Linked DNA regions of Homo sapiens: region 1 is linked to region 2. Evidence: promoter capture Hi-C in 16 types of primary human blood cells and fetal thymus (Javierre and others, 2016). All regions are on one chromosome and are shown on one strand. Each heading gives the region's core, a stretch centred on a gene start or on the middle of the fragment in contact. The rest is flanking DNA. Distances are from core to core; before and after follow the strand shown.

What was found. Contacts are between HindIII fragments. The CHiCAGO score rates a contact against its expected background, and 5 or more counts as called.
Region 1: a fragment that was not itself captured here is called in contact with the fragment with the promoter of KMO in region 2 in 4 of 17 cell types (monocytes, M0 macrophages, M2 macrophages and 1 more); the score reaches 9.2 in monocytes.

What each region holds. Positions count from the first base shown.
Region 1 is chr1:241,597,371-241,603,539 of GRCh38, forward strand. It overlaps OPN3 (opsin 3), which reads right to left. Exons shown (of 4, transcript NM_014322.3): 3 at 376-627. Among named protein-coding and RNA genes, the nearest start is that of CHML, 40 kb to the right of the region's middle. The HindIII fragment of the contact is 4,325 bases long and covers 369-4,693 here.
Region 2 is chr1:241,528,609-241,534,788 of GRCh38, forward strand. It overlaps KMO (kynurenine 3-monooxygenase), which reads left to right and starts at 3,770. Exons shown (of 15, transcript NM_003679.5): 1 at 3,770-3,890. The coding sequence starts at 3,837. RefSeq lists an enhancer at 3,353-3,502. The HindIII fragment of the contact is 7,761 bases long and covers 1-6,180 here.

The DNA.
Region 1 (6,169 bases), core at 1,281-3,780, 68 kb after region 2:
CTATTTTGTGGAGTTTTGTAAACTGGCTTGTAACTTGTTTGTGACTTGCTTGTAACTTGCTTGGTACAGTAGGAATTTTAAATGTATTATTAACATTGTAGCTGTTATTACTAGGCATAAACTATTTTCTGATGAATTAAATATTAGTTTTACTAGAATTCTACCTAACAAGTGTGAATCCCTATGGGTAGTTCTTAGAATTGTTATGATTTTCTTTGGAAATATTCTACATTTCTTCCAGATCCCTTTAATTCCTAAAAAATTCTTGTTTTTTTTTTAATTGAAGCGACTCTGAATCACCTCTGTAAAAGTATTACACTGTCATTTCCAACTCTATGCCCAGGGTGAAAACAATCAGTTAATTGCAAAGCTTACCTTTCTGATCATGAAGACATAAATCACTGGATTGTATACAGTGTTCGATTTAGCAAAGAGGTACGAAACAATAGATATTGTTGGAGTGACCAGGTGACCATGACCATTAACCACCAAGAAGCAGATCACGATATAAGGCATCCAACAGACCAGGAAGGTGAATATCATTAAAAAGCACATTTTGGCCAGTTTCTTTTCATATTTTAAAATCTTGATCACTTGAATTGTCTGAAGATCTTCCACACAACGAAGCTGCAGAAAGGAGAAAGAAAGGAAAGGGCTTAAAAAACAAAAGAAGGGTTTCTTTTGTTGTTTTTATAACAGATATTCAGACACCATTCTTGGCCCCACCTAAATGGAAAGAGAACTGAATGGCACCTTGGCAGGCTGACTTCTGATCCAAGACTCATAGCTGAGTCCAGCTTTAACCTTGCCGGGCCTCAGTCTCCCCACTTACAACATAGGGTGGTTGAGCTACAGAGCCTCCTACATCCTTCAGTGTTTTTTTTGACGTTCTCTTATTTACTTAATAAGAATAACATTATTTTGCCTAGATCTTCAAGTCTCTAAAAGACAGCCTGAGAGAGTCACGATAAAATGCAAAGAATTTCCCTGTGATCCTGGAAACTCTATAGAGTGTTAGTCCTCCAGTTCTCAAATCAGACTGCACACCCATGTCATGTCAGGTGTTCTGCATGATTAAGCCTGCAGCTGGCCTTGATGAGCACTTAATTCCCAAGTGAATTCTTACTGAAAACCAGCTTTTCAATTCACTGCTAATGACTGTAAAGTAGAATTTCAGGAGAAATTTGTTTGTGATTGGCTTCATTAGGGGATCACTTGCAGAGAACAGCACTTGGTAAAACAACTCCTTCCTCTAAAACCAGCCTGTCTACTCGCAGTCTGTTCCCATTAAAGGGATGGAGGAGTAATGATGTACAGCCTGAAAGTTCTTTGAGTTTCTTGAATATGTTTCTTTTTGCTGTTTCTCCTATTATTATATATGTGTCATAATAATACACAGGCAAAGAATATTTCTGCACACCAAAAATGTGTTCCTAAATCAAAATAGTTCTCTCTAAACATTGTAATAAGTTATATGAATTATACTACAAAAATACAAATACTCTATATATTGATTTTTTAAGTAGTTAGCATATAGTTAATACTTAGTATTGATTACTTTATGCCTGGAAATTTACTGCATTTCAATGAACTCTAAGTGTACCTTTTGGTTCTAGCATTATCATAAAAATTAAGAGAAAGAATTTCCAAAGAAATCATTTAGAACATGTGCTTAGATTATTTAGAAATATATTTTAATTAAAATTCTCAAATTACTGATATCCAAAATTATATTTAAGAAATTATATTCTTATCAAAATCATGTATTCAGATTAGCAAAGAATAGAGAGAAATAGGAAAAATTTAAATCATTGATTTTTTTAGGGTAGAGAGACTATGTGCAGGGAAAAGTGGGTATTAAATTTCTGGTATTAGTTTGGTGCAAAAGTAATTGTGGTTTTTGCCATTAAAGGTAAACCTTTGAAGGTCACCTTATTTAAAGGTAAATAATATTCCTTTACCACTATGCCAATTACTTTAAAAAATCAATATATAAAGTATTTGTATTTTTGTAGTAAAATTCATATAACTTATTACAATGTTCAGAGATAACTATTTTTATTTAGGAACATATTTTTGGTGTGCAGAAAGGTAAATAATTTACCTTTAAAAAAGGTTACCTTTAAAGGTTTACCTTTAACGGCAAAAACCGCAATTACTTTTGCACCAACCGAATACTACTATTCTGTGTGTGCAATTCTATTTTAAAAGAAACTGTTTTATTTAATGGGATAGAATATTTTTCTATTTTCAAAACATCATTTTGGGGGAGCTTCCCTAGTTTATAGGAAGGCTGTGGGGTTTTGATAAAAGGTCTAGATTTGGAATTAGAAGATCTAAGTTTATATCCCAGATTAACCACTTTTGCTCGCAGTGTGATATTGAGCAAGTCAACAACCTCCTCTAAGAGTAAACAAGAAAGGAGGTAAAGCAAAAAAACCTATGAGAATTAACAGAACTTGAGTTCCATTTCCACACGTATGACTTTGTGGGGTTGTTTTTGAGGTTAAATACTTATTTATATTTGAACTAGATATGAGACTAACACACTTGTATGTATATGTACATTTATGATACTATAGGATATCTGGAATCATTATTGACTCTTCAGAGTTTCAATTAACAAGCAACATAACCACATCTCAGTTATCTGCCTCCCAAACCTCCAGTATTTAGGTCCAATCGTTTTATCTGTACCATTTTCTGGGCAGGTCAGTCTTTATCCCCTCTCGCCATTTATCAAAGGAGAACACTCATTTATCCATCTTGGAATTACATGCATGCTGGGGAAATTAATTTAAATAAATGTTTGTCTATACATCCCCAGTTCCTCTTTGGGATAAGGAGAAGATATTGACTAATGTTTTAGATTATTTGGGTTTATATATGTGAAGTTTTCATGATTATTTTTTATTTATCTTTTTCAGGCCTCTTTCTTTCATTACTTTCTATTCCTTCATTCTGCTCATTAAATATTTTCCAAATAAAAAACTCGATTTCATGTCTTACCCTCTTTATTCAATCATTTGAGGATAGTTTTCAAAATTGCTATGGATGAAGCAATTTTGAAATGATTGGCACAGGCACAAATTTGTCCTAAAGAATGAACCAGCTAAGACAAATTCTTCAGAATTCTCTATCAGATTGTTCTCTGGCTGTATAAATGGCTGGTGCCTAGTGCTCCTTAATCCAAGACATCTGTAGATTTTCAAAGAATTTCACTGTGAATCTTCATTCTCAAGTGTGTAGCTATGTCTCCATCGTTGTTATGAGTCACCTCTCTCTGAATAAGGAAACGGAGGCAAATTACTTGCAGTGAGCTCTCTGTTTAGATAGCAGCTAAAGTCAAATCTCTTCACACTTTCACCCCTTCTCCTGTCTTCCCCTTTCTATGCCCTCTGCTTGTAACTCATTCCAAAAATAGTCACTGATTACCTACTACATGCAGACACTGTTCCAGTCACAGGTGAGAAAATACATAAGACCCAGTCTCTGCTCTTGAGGAATTCACTATTTGGTGAGGATGATGCACACTGAGCGGGTAGAAGCCATGAGGGAGGTAAACAGGGAGGATATGGTAGTACACAGGATGGGAAACTGGTTCTGAGGGTGGGTTAGAGCAAGAAAATCGTGCTGTTAGCCTTGTGAGGGAAGGAGGAATTAGTCAAGTAAGGAGGAGAGACAGAATGTTCCAGAGAAAGAAAGTGTGCTAAGACAAGAGGCAAAATAAAAAGTCAGTTTCTGAAAACAAGAAATATTACCATTGGCCGCATCATGAGGTGGCAAGAAGACAGGAGTGTCAAGAAATGAGGCTGGACAGGTAGACAGGAGATGCCATACAGGACCTGCCGGCCACACCCAGGGGCTTTATTTTGAGTCACAAAGACAGTGGAACTTCTGAAGGTAATACTTGAGAACAACTACTCTGATGGCAGTGTGTAAAGAATGGAATAGAGGAAAGCAAAAATTTTAAAAAGGAGAACTAAGTTTTTTTTTTTTAACTGAGTCTGTGGCAGTGGGAGAGGAAAAAATGGATATACCAAAAAATATAGGGCTAGGAGCAGTGGCTCACACCTGTAATCCTAGCACTTTGGGAGGCCAAGGCGGGCAGATCATGAGGTCAGGAGTTCGAAACCAGCCTGGCCAACATGGTGAAACCCCATCTCTACTAAAAATATTTTAAAAATTAGCCAGGCATGGTGGTGGGCACCTGTAATCCCAGCTACTCAGGAGGCTGAGGCAGGAGAATTGCTTGAACCTGTGAGGCGGAGGTTGCAGTGAGCCGAGATTCTGCCATTGCACTCCAGCCTGGGCAATAAGAGTAAAACTTCGTCTCAAAAAACAAAACAAAACAAAACAAACAAACAAACAGAAACAAAACGAAACAAAAAAACATGTAAGTGGCATGGATAAGAACTGATCAATAGTTGTGTGTTGGGGGAGACATGGATGACACATAGTCAAAGATTACTCCCTAATTTCTGGTCTTGGTATCTAGGAATGATGACTATTCAATGAGAAAGCAAATAGACGAGCAGAAGATTTTAGGGAAAATATGACAAATTAATCTTTATATTTGTTAAATTTGATGAGTCTGTGGACCATCCAAGTGGAGGTGTTCAAGAGGCAATTGACTACGAGGATCTGTTAGAGGCTGGAAGAAAGACCTGAACTGGAAATGGAGATGTTATCAAGCTTGTGTCAGAAGGAGAAATCCTGGCAGTATGAAAGACCACCCAAGGCCAGTGTGTAGCATGGGACAAGAGCTAAACATAGGATGCTGGGGAGGCCCAAAGAAGAGAAGCCCTTGGAAGAGATAAGAAGATGGCGCCAGAGAGTCAGCAACAAAGACAGCAGAGAAAGGCGCCCTAGAATCGATGGCAGGAGACCACCACAAGAAAGTAGAAGTTGGCAATAGTCTCAAACGCTGAGGATGCTAGAAAGGAATAAAAATGTGTCCATGGGATCACATATCTGGGAGCTCATCAATGACCTGAAATGAGGGCTGTATTAGTGGCAGTGCGGTAGAGGAAGGAGTCACAAGTTTGCCTTAAGTTGAGGAATGAATGCTAGATAAACTTACTAAACTACCAACTCCCTGAACTACAACAGAAATGTATTTCTCACAGTTCTGGAGGCTGGGAAGTCCCAGGTAGAGTAGCTGGCAAGGTAGGTATCATTCTGAGGCCTCCTCTCTTGACTGTTATCTCACTGTGTGCTTCCATGTTCTCTTATTTATGCACTCGTGGGAAGACAGAAAGAGAGACAGAGAGAGAGAGATAGAGATAGAGAGAGAGAGAGAAAGAGCAAGCTTTCTGGTGTCTCTTCTTACAAGGACACTAATCCCCTAATCCCATCAGACCAGAGCCCCATCCTCATGACCTCCTCTGACCCTAATTACCTCCCAAGGCCCCATCCCCAAATACTGTCACATCGGTGGTTAGAGATTCCACGTAGGAATCTGAGAGGGACACAAACATTCAGTCTATAACAGCAAGAAATTGGCATATTTGATATGCTCAATAAATATCAGGTAAATGAATGCTTAGTGAGTGACATTGTGGCACCAAGAGTCACCAATGGTTCTTTGAGTTAGCAGTGACAAAATGGAGAAAAATAAAGTGATAGCTAGAGGGAGCTGAGAGTAGATTGTGATTAAAAACAAAATAGCCTGGTAATATGCTAAAGGGAAAGGGCCAGTGGTAAGGGAGAGTGTGAAGATACAAGGGAAAGAGAAAATTATTAAGAAGTGTCTCTGGGGCATGGAAGGGGGTGGGGGAGCAATCAGAATACAGAATCGAGTTGGTCCTGGGAGACCTCTCCTGTCGCCCTGTAACTGAAGAGAGAGTCCTAAGAATCAGTGGTTTGTGTAAAGAGAGGTAAGGAGTCAAAGGAACCCTTGATAATGGCTTTGTTTGGTCCGATAAATCAGAAGCAGACTTACTTGATAAGAATGAGAGGAGACAGTAGGGTGAGAAATTAAAATGAGAAATGAGTCTGTGTAATAGTCACAGTGTGGAGACAGTAGACCACACATACAGGGATAGAAAGGTTGGTAGAACAAGGCTGAGAGGACATCTAAGTGTAGACAGATGTGTTTTGTTTTTTTTTTTCCAGCTCCTCCTTGCAGTTTGACTACAGGCATAGAGAAAATAGATGATTGAACTGA
Region 2 (6,180 bases), core at 2,520-5,019:
AAAACTAGGATGTGCCATGCATTTGGAACTTAAGAAATAAACCTGTATTCCACCCTGTACTGGAGGTACTAGCCAGCATGGAAAGAATCATTCAATCAGTCAGTAGCAGGGGGAGAGAGAGAGAGAGAGAGAGAGAGAGAGAGAGAGAGAGAGAGAGAGAGAGAGAGAGAAACTACCATGATTGTGGTGAAGAGAAAAATCCACCATTCAGTCAACAGGAAAGAAAGACAAAAAGGAATGAAGGAAGGAAGGAAAGAAGGAAGGAAGGGACTGTCATTGCGATTGGGTGAAAAGAAAAATCAAAAAATCTACAGACAAAATCAATAGAATTAATAACTTTTGCAATGCTGCTGCATACAAGCTCACAAAATGGAAAATAATGTGTTTCTAAATACTATTAATAGTAGAAAATGAAATGAAAGATATTATTTACAATAAAATTTAAAAAATCAATTACCTAAACATAATAATAGGGGATCAAACCTCTACAGGGAAAGAATATAACTTTGTAAGCCTTGGAGATGACAAACAGATGGTGGGGAGGGGCATATCATATTCTGAATGGAAAGACGCAGTAGTCAAAATAGTTATTCTTTCCAGATAGATGTATAACTTCGAAGCAATCCCAGTCAAAAATCCCAACCATATTTTTATTTTAGGGATTTTTAAAATGGAATTAACAGGCTGATTCTAAAACAGATGGAAATACAAAGCACCAAGAATAGTCAATACATTATTAATGAAGGACAAGGTGGGTGAATTGATGAAGATATTAAGGATTGTATTAAAGCTATTGTAATTTGGCTTTGGAACTGGCATTAGTAGGTATAGTATGGGCAGTATAGACTATATGGAATGAAATAGAATAGAAACCTGGAACGAGACCCACACATATATGAACACTGGACCTACACCAAAGGCAATGCGGGAAAAGGAAAGTCTTTTCATTTATTGGTACAGGGAATATTGGGTATTCATTTGGAAAACAAATAAAATTTTGACATCTATATCACAGCATTCCAAAAACAAAAAAACTAACTCCATGTTGATCATAGACCTAAAAATGAAAGGTAAATTATAACTATTTTAGAAGTCAACATGGAAGAATATCCTCATGACCTCAAGATTATACAAAAAAAGTGATAAAACATGACATGAAAAACTCTAACCACAAGGGAAAAGAATGTATTAAATGAAGAATATTCTTTCATCAAAAGACACCACTAGGAAAGCAAAAAGGCAAGCCACAGAGTGAATGAAATGTTATTTGTGACATATCTAAGTACTAAAGTTCATATGCAATGGGACTCAAAAAAGGAAAAAAAAATTCCCACCCTCCCCCCCCAAAAATTAACACTACCTATACAGAAGAAGAAAAAGAAGTTGTGAATGAACAGGTAAAAATGTGCTCAACTTCACTGATAATCAAAGGACTGCAAATTAAAAGAACACTGAAATATAAAGCACATCTACCAGACTGGCAAAAATTAAAAATTCTTGGCAATACATACATTGGTGAGGATACAGCAGAAGACAAATTTTACACATTGTGTTAAGTAAAAGCTAATGCACTACTTTGGAATGTAACTTTCGTTTATTCAGAAAGGTTAAAAATATGCATAAACATGGCTGGGCGCAGTCACTCACATCTGTAATTCCAGCACTTTGGGAGGCTGAGGCGGGTGGACCACTTGAGGCCGAGTTCAAGACCAGCCTAGTCAACATGGTGAAACCCCATCTCTACTGAAAAAATACAAAAATTAGCTAGGCGTGGTAGCAGGCACCTGTAATCCCAGCTACTCGGGAGGCTGAGGCAGGAGAATCAGTTGAACCTGGGAGGCAGAGGTTGCAGTGAGCCGAGATTGCACCATTGCACTCCAGCCTGGGTGACAGAGTGAGACTCCATCTCAAAAAAACCCAAAAAACAAAAAACAAACAAAAAAGCATAAACAGCATATGAAACCTAGAGATACTCATACATATGTACATGACATTGTATACACAAGAGTGTTTATGGCAACACCATTATTCATGATATTAAAAATTTGGAAACACCCCAAATGTCCATCAACAGCACAATGGACAAATAATAAATGACGATAAAAATGAATGAACTGGAAAAACATGCAACAACACAAATGGATCTTAAGAGATATAATATTGAGAAAAAGAAGCAAGTTGTAAAAAAATAAACAGTATAAGTTCATTTATAGGAAAGTTCAAAAAAGTCAACACTAAACTATTTTAGGGATGCATCTATCATGGTACAATTATACATAAAAGCAAAGAAAGTTGGTATGGCAGTTACCTCTACGAAGGAGGGGTGATTAACAGGGGGCACGTTAGACTTCTGGGATTCTGGCAATATTCTCTCTCTGCACCTAAATGGTAGTTACATGGATACTTGCTTTACAGTAACTTATTATACTGTTCATTTGTGTTATAGTTCATAATTTTTAAAAGATTTTTTAACAATGATACATATTGATACTGAGGAATTGATACATATTCTCTACATATTGATATTGAAGAATTCTCAAGCTATATGTTGTAAAGTGAGAAATATGATGTGGAAAAAGTTTTTAAATGTATGTTTAAAAAGAAAGGAAGGAAGGGAATGAGAGAGTGAGAGAAAGAGAGAGAGAAAAGGAGAGAGAGGAAGAACAAGAAAGACATAATCAACGTGTAGAAGAATACGGTAACCCACACACCAAAACAGTTGTTGTCTTTGGGCAGGAGGAATAGGTGGCCAAGGGTCAAGGTTAGCAGGATTACTATTCACCGTGTACTCTTTTGTGTCTTTAATTTCATGCCATGTTAATGTATTACCTATTCAAAATAAATAAAATACCTAATCATGCTTATCCACAAGGGGTCACTATTGAATGCCATTTAACTCTAGTTCCTAACCAGGGAAAAAAACGTTCTGAATTCTTTATGTGCTTAACAGGAAGTGAAGAAACAACTTCATTTATGTTCTTATTTTACATTACACCACATCATGTTCCAGAAAACAATTGCCATTCGCAAATCATGCACAAAAGTATAACATTTAAAACGGAGTGAAAAAGACAAAAAAGTGAATAGATAATATGAAGTCGGGAATGAGTTTACAGAAGCGTTGTGTCAGTCATCTCCCCTAGTGGTAATTAGACTCTAAATTTTCGATTCTAAAATTAGATTCTAAATTTTCTAGCATCTGGGCTGAAAAAAAAAAGGGGAAGTATGGTCAGTTACACAATTCAAAATGTTGATCGGGAGAATATTAAGACCTTGCAGAGAATTTTCCCTGGTAGAGCCTGTTAAAAACAATCCATGAGGACCCTTTAGATGAAATTTTTGATTGGTCTTAACCACAAAAATGATCCACAGATGAATTATGAAACCATGTCATCTTACTCTCTAAGGGAGGTATAAGATGTTTTTGGACTTCAGATGAGAAGGGCTCCATTCATGGTTAATCATGAATGAAAACGAAACTAAGAATATATGCTGTAGAAAAAGAAGAAGAAAAGCCACAAGACTGCTTAAAAATTTCTGTGTCTTACACAGAAGATAGAAAAAATAGAGTGTCTCCAATTGGATGGATTTTTTAAAAAATTTGGTTATTGTAATGGATTTATTTTTTCTTAGAGCTGAGCTGATTGTACTTTGGCCAACTAATGGGTTAATACTGTCAAGGGAAATTAGCCCTGACTAAACATTGCCGCTGGCTCATGAATGCACTAGGCTTGGGGCAGTATAAAAACTCAGAGAAATCAGTGTGTAGGAGACACAGAAATCAGTGTCACTCAGTGACAGAAGCAACAATAATTGTGAAAAATACTTCAGCAGTTATGGACTCATCTGTCATTCAAAGGAAAAAAGTAGCTGTCATTGGTGGTGGCTTGGTAAGAATTTTCAGATGGATTACTATTGTTGGTGGTATTATATTAACTATTATTACTCGTAATGATTATTATTCGTCACTTCTGCAAATTGTTAATTTTCTTGTGAAAACTCTGATATTTAAATACAGCTATTTTGTTTATTTTTTTAATATTTTTATTTTCATAGATTTAATATAGTATGAGTTTTAATCTGTTCTTTTTCAGGAAAGGTATTTTATAGCCATTAAATACAAAGGTTTCTGTTTTCCCTCATCATTTTGGTTTAGGATTTGTTAAAAAGCAAAAATAATGCAAATTGAATTTGATTTTATCCCCAAATTGGCTATGTTTTTAGGAACAGGAATTAGTCTCAATATTCATTTTAATAAAAACATTTGTTCCGCTTTGTTTAATAACTCAGTTAATGCTGTCTAATGAGAATAAAAGGGTCAAGAAACATGAAGCTAACGTCAAAGTATCATGTTGAATGTTCACTAGTTATATGAGTAATTGGGAATAAGATTTATGTGGTCGCCTGACTTACTTGACTCTTCCAGTGGAGCACCTAAGACAGTGGAGTGAGGTGTTCACCTCTCACTGAGCACGTGACGTAAAGGTGCTGGGGCTTCCCCCATACCTAACAAGACGGAAGGAGAGGTCACTCTCTGCTTTCATAGTTATGGTGCCAAAGGTAGTTCTGTTTAACATGGGTCTGCTCCGATTCAACTTTGCTTTTTCCCATCTCAGCAGAATTTCTGTTTCAGAATACAAACATCCCAGTTAGTCAAGGTTAAATCATTTCCCTATCACCTTTGGTCAAATCATTTGGAGACTTTTCATTAATTATTCATATATCCACTCAACAAAAAATTTATTGAGGGCGTAACACTGTTCTAGGCTGAATATAGATGGTATATTTTATGCCACACATGTATTTATACAGTATATGCTGTCTTTTGTTCTGCCTTCCTTAGTGTCTTTTCCCCAAAGTGCTAGAACAGTTCTTTTAATATTTCTGATTCTAAATTTTCATTTAGAAATGCTATCACATGATGTGTTGGTCACTGGTTGGGACATGTGTCGTCACTGCTTCATACTAGGCTTGTGTCCAATCTGTCCTATCAAAATGTTGCACAAAATGAGAATTCATGTGTTCAACAAAATCTGATTACTATGTACCAATATTGTTTTAGGTAGTAGGGATGCGAGGGTGAGAATTCCAGAGAAGAAAAAGACAAGGAAGAAGAAAACAAATAAGACAATTTCAGTTAAAGAGAAGCACTATGAAAGAAACGAAAACAGGGTAGTGCTGTAGAGAGTATCTTTGGGAGTACCTGTTTAGAATGTGGTCAGGGACAGCTGCTCTGCTGAAGGGACATGTGACCAGAGACCTGAATGATCAGATAGAACTAACTACGTGAAGATCTTGAGAAAGAGCATTTCAGGCAGAGGGAACAGCAGGAAGAGAAACCCTCAGGCAATAATGAGCTGCCCAAGTTCAAGGAGCAGAAAGAAAGGCAGGAACTGCCTGAGGCCAGAGAAGAGTAGCTGATGAGGCCAGAAAAGCTGACAGACCAGATCTTGTAGGATCTTAGAGGTCCAGGCAAGAAGATCAGATTTTGTTCAAATTACAATGGGAAACTATTGGAGGATTTTAGGCAGGAAATTAAGTTGTGATTTTAAAAGGTCCCTTGGACCATTATGTGGAGAATGACTAGGAACATTTTAAGATGACAAGATAGACCAGTTAGGAGGCTGTTACGTTAGCTCAAGACTTGGACTAAGGTGGCAGCAGTGATGTCTCATTTTAAAAATTGTCTCTTAGAAATCCAAGGGAGAGATAACAAATATGTGATTGTATATATGGTTTTGGGGGGCATAAAAATGTGGGTGTCATCCATGGATTTCTCCCTGAATAACATGAGATTGTCATCATGTAACCACGTCATACATATGCTGGAAAATAGGAGACAAAAATTACTACTTGCGTATTAGGGAGCAACTAAAATTCCTCTGCAAAAGAATTCTATCCATCCTATTGTTCAAGTCCATGCTTACGCATCATGTTTGATTCCTATTGTCATTTTGTGCAAACGCTTATTCTTCTTTCACTCCATCAGTAAGCCTTGAGGCTCTATATCCAAAATACATTTAAATTCTAGCCATTACAACCATCCTGGCCCAAGCCATTATCATCCGCCATCCTTATTCCTGCAACAAGCTCCAAATTAGTCTCCCAGCTTTAACTCCTTTTCCCTTATAGTCCATACTACACACCACAGCCAGAAACACCCTTCTAAAACATGAGTCT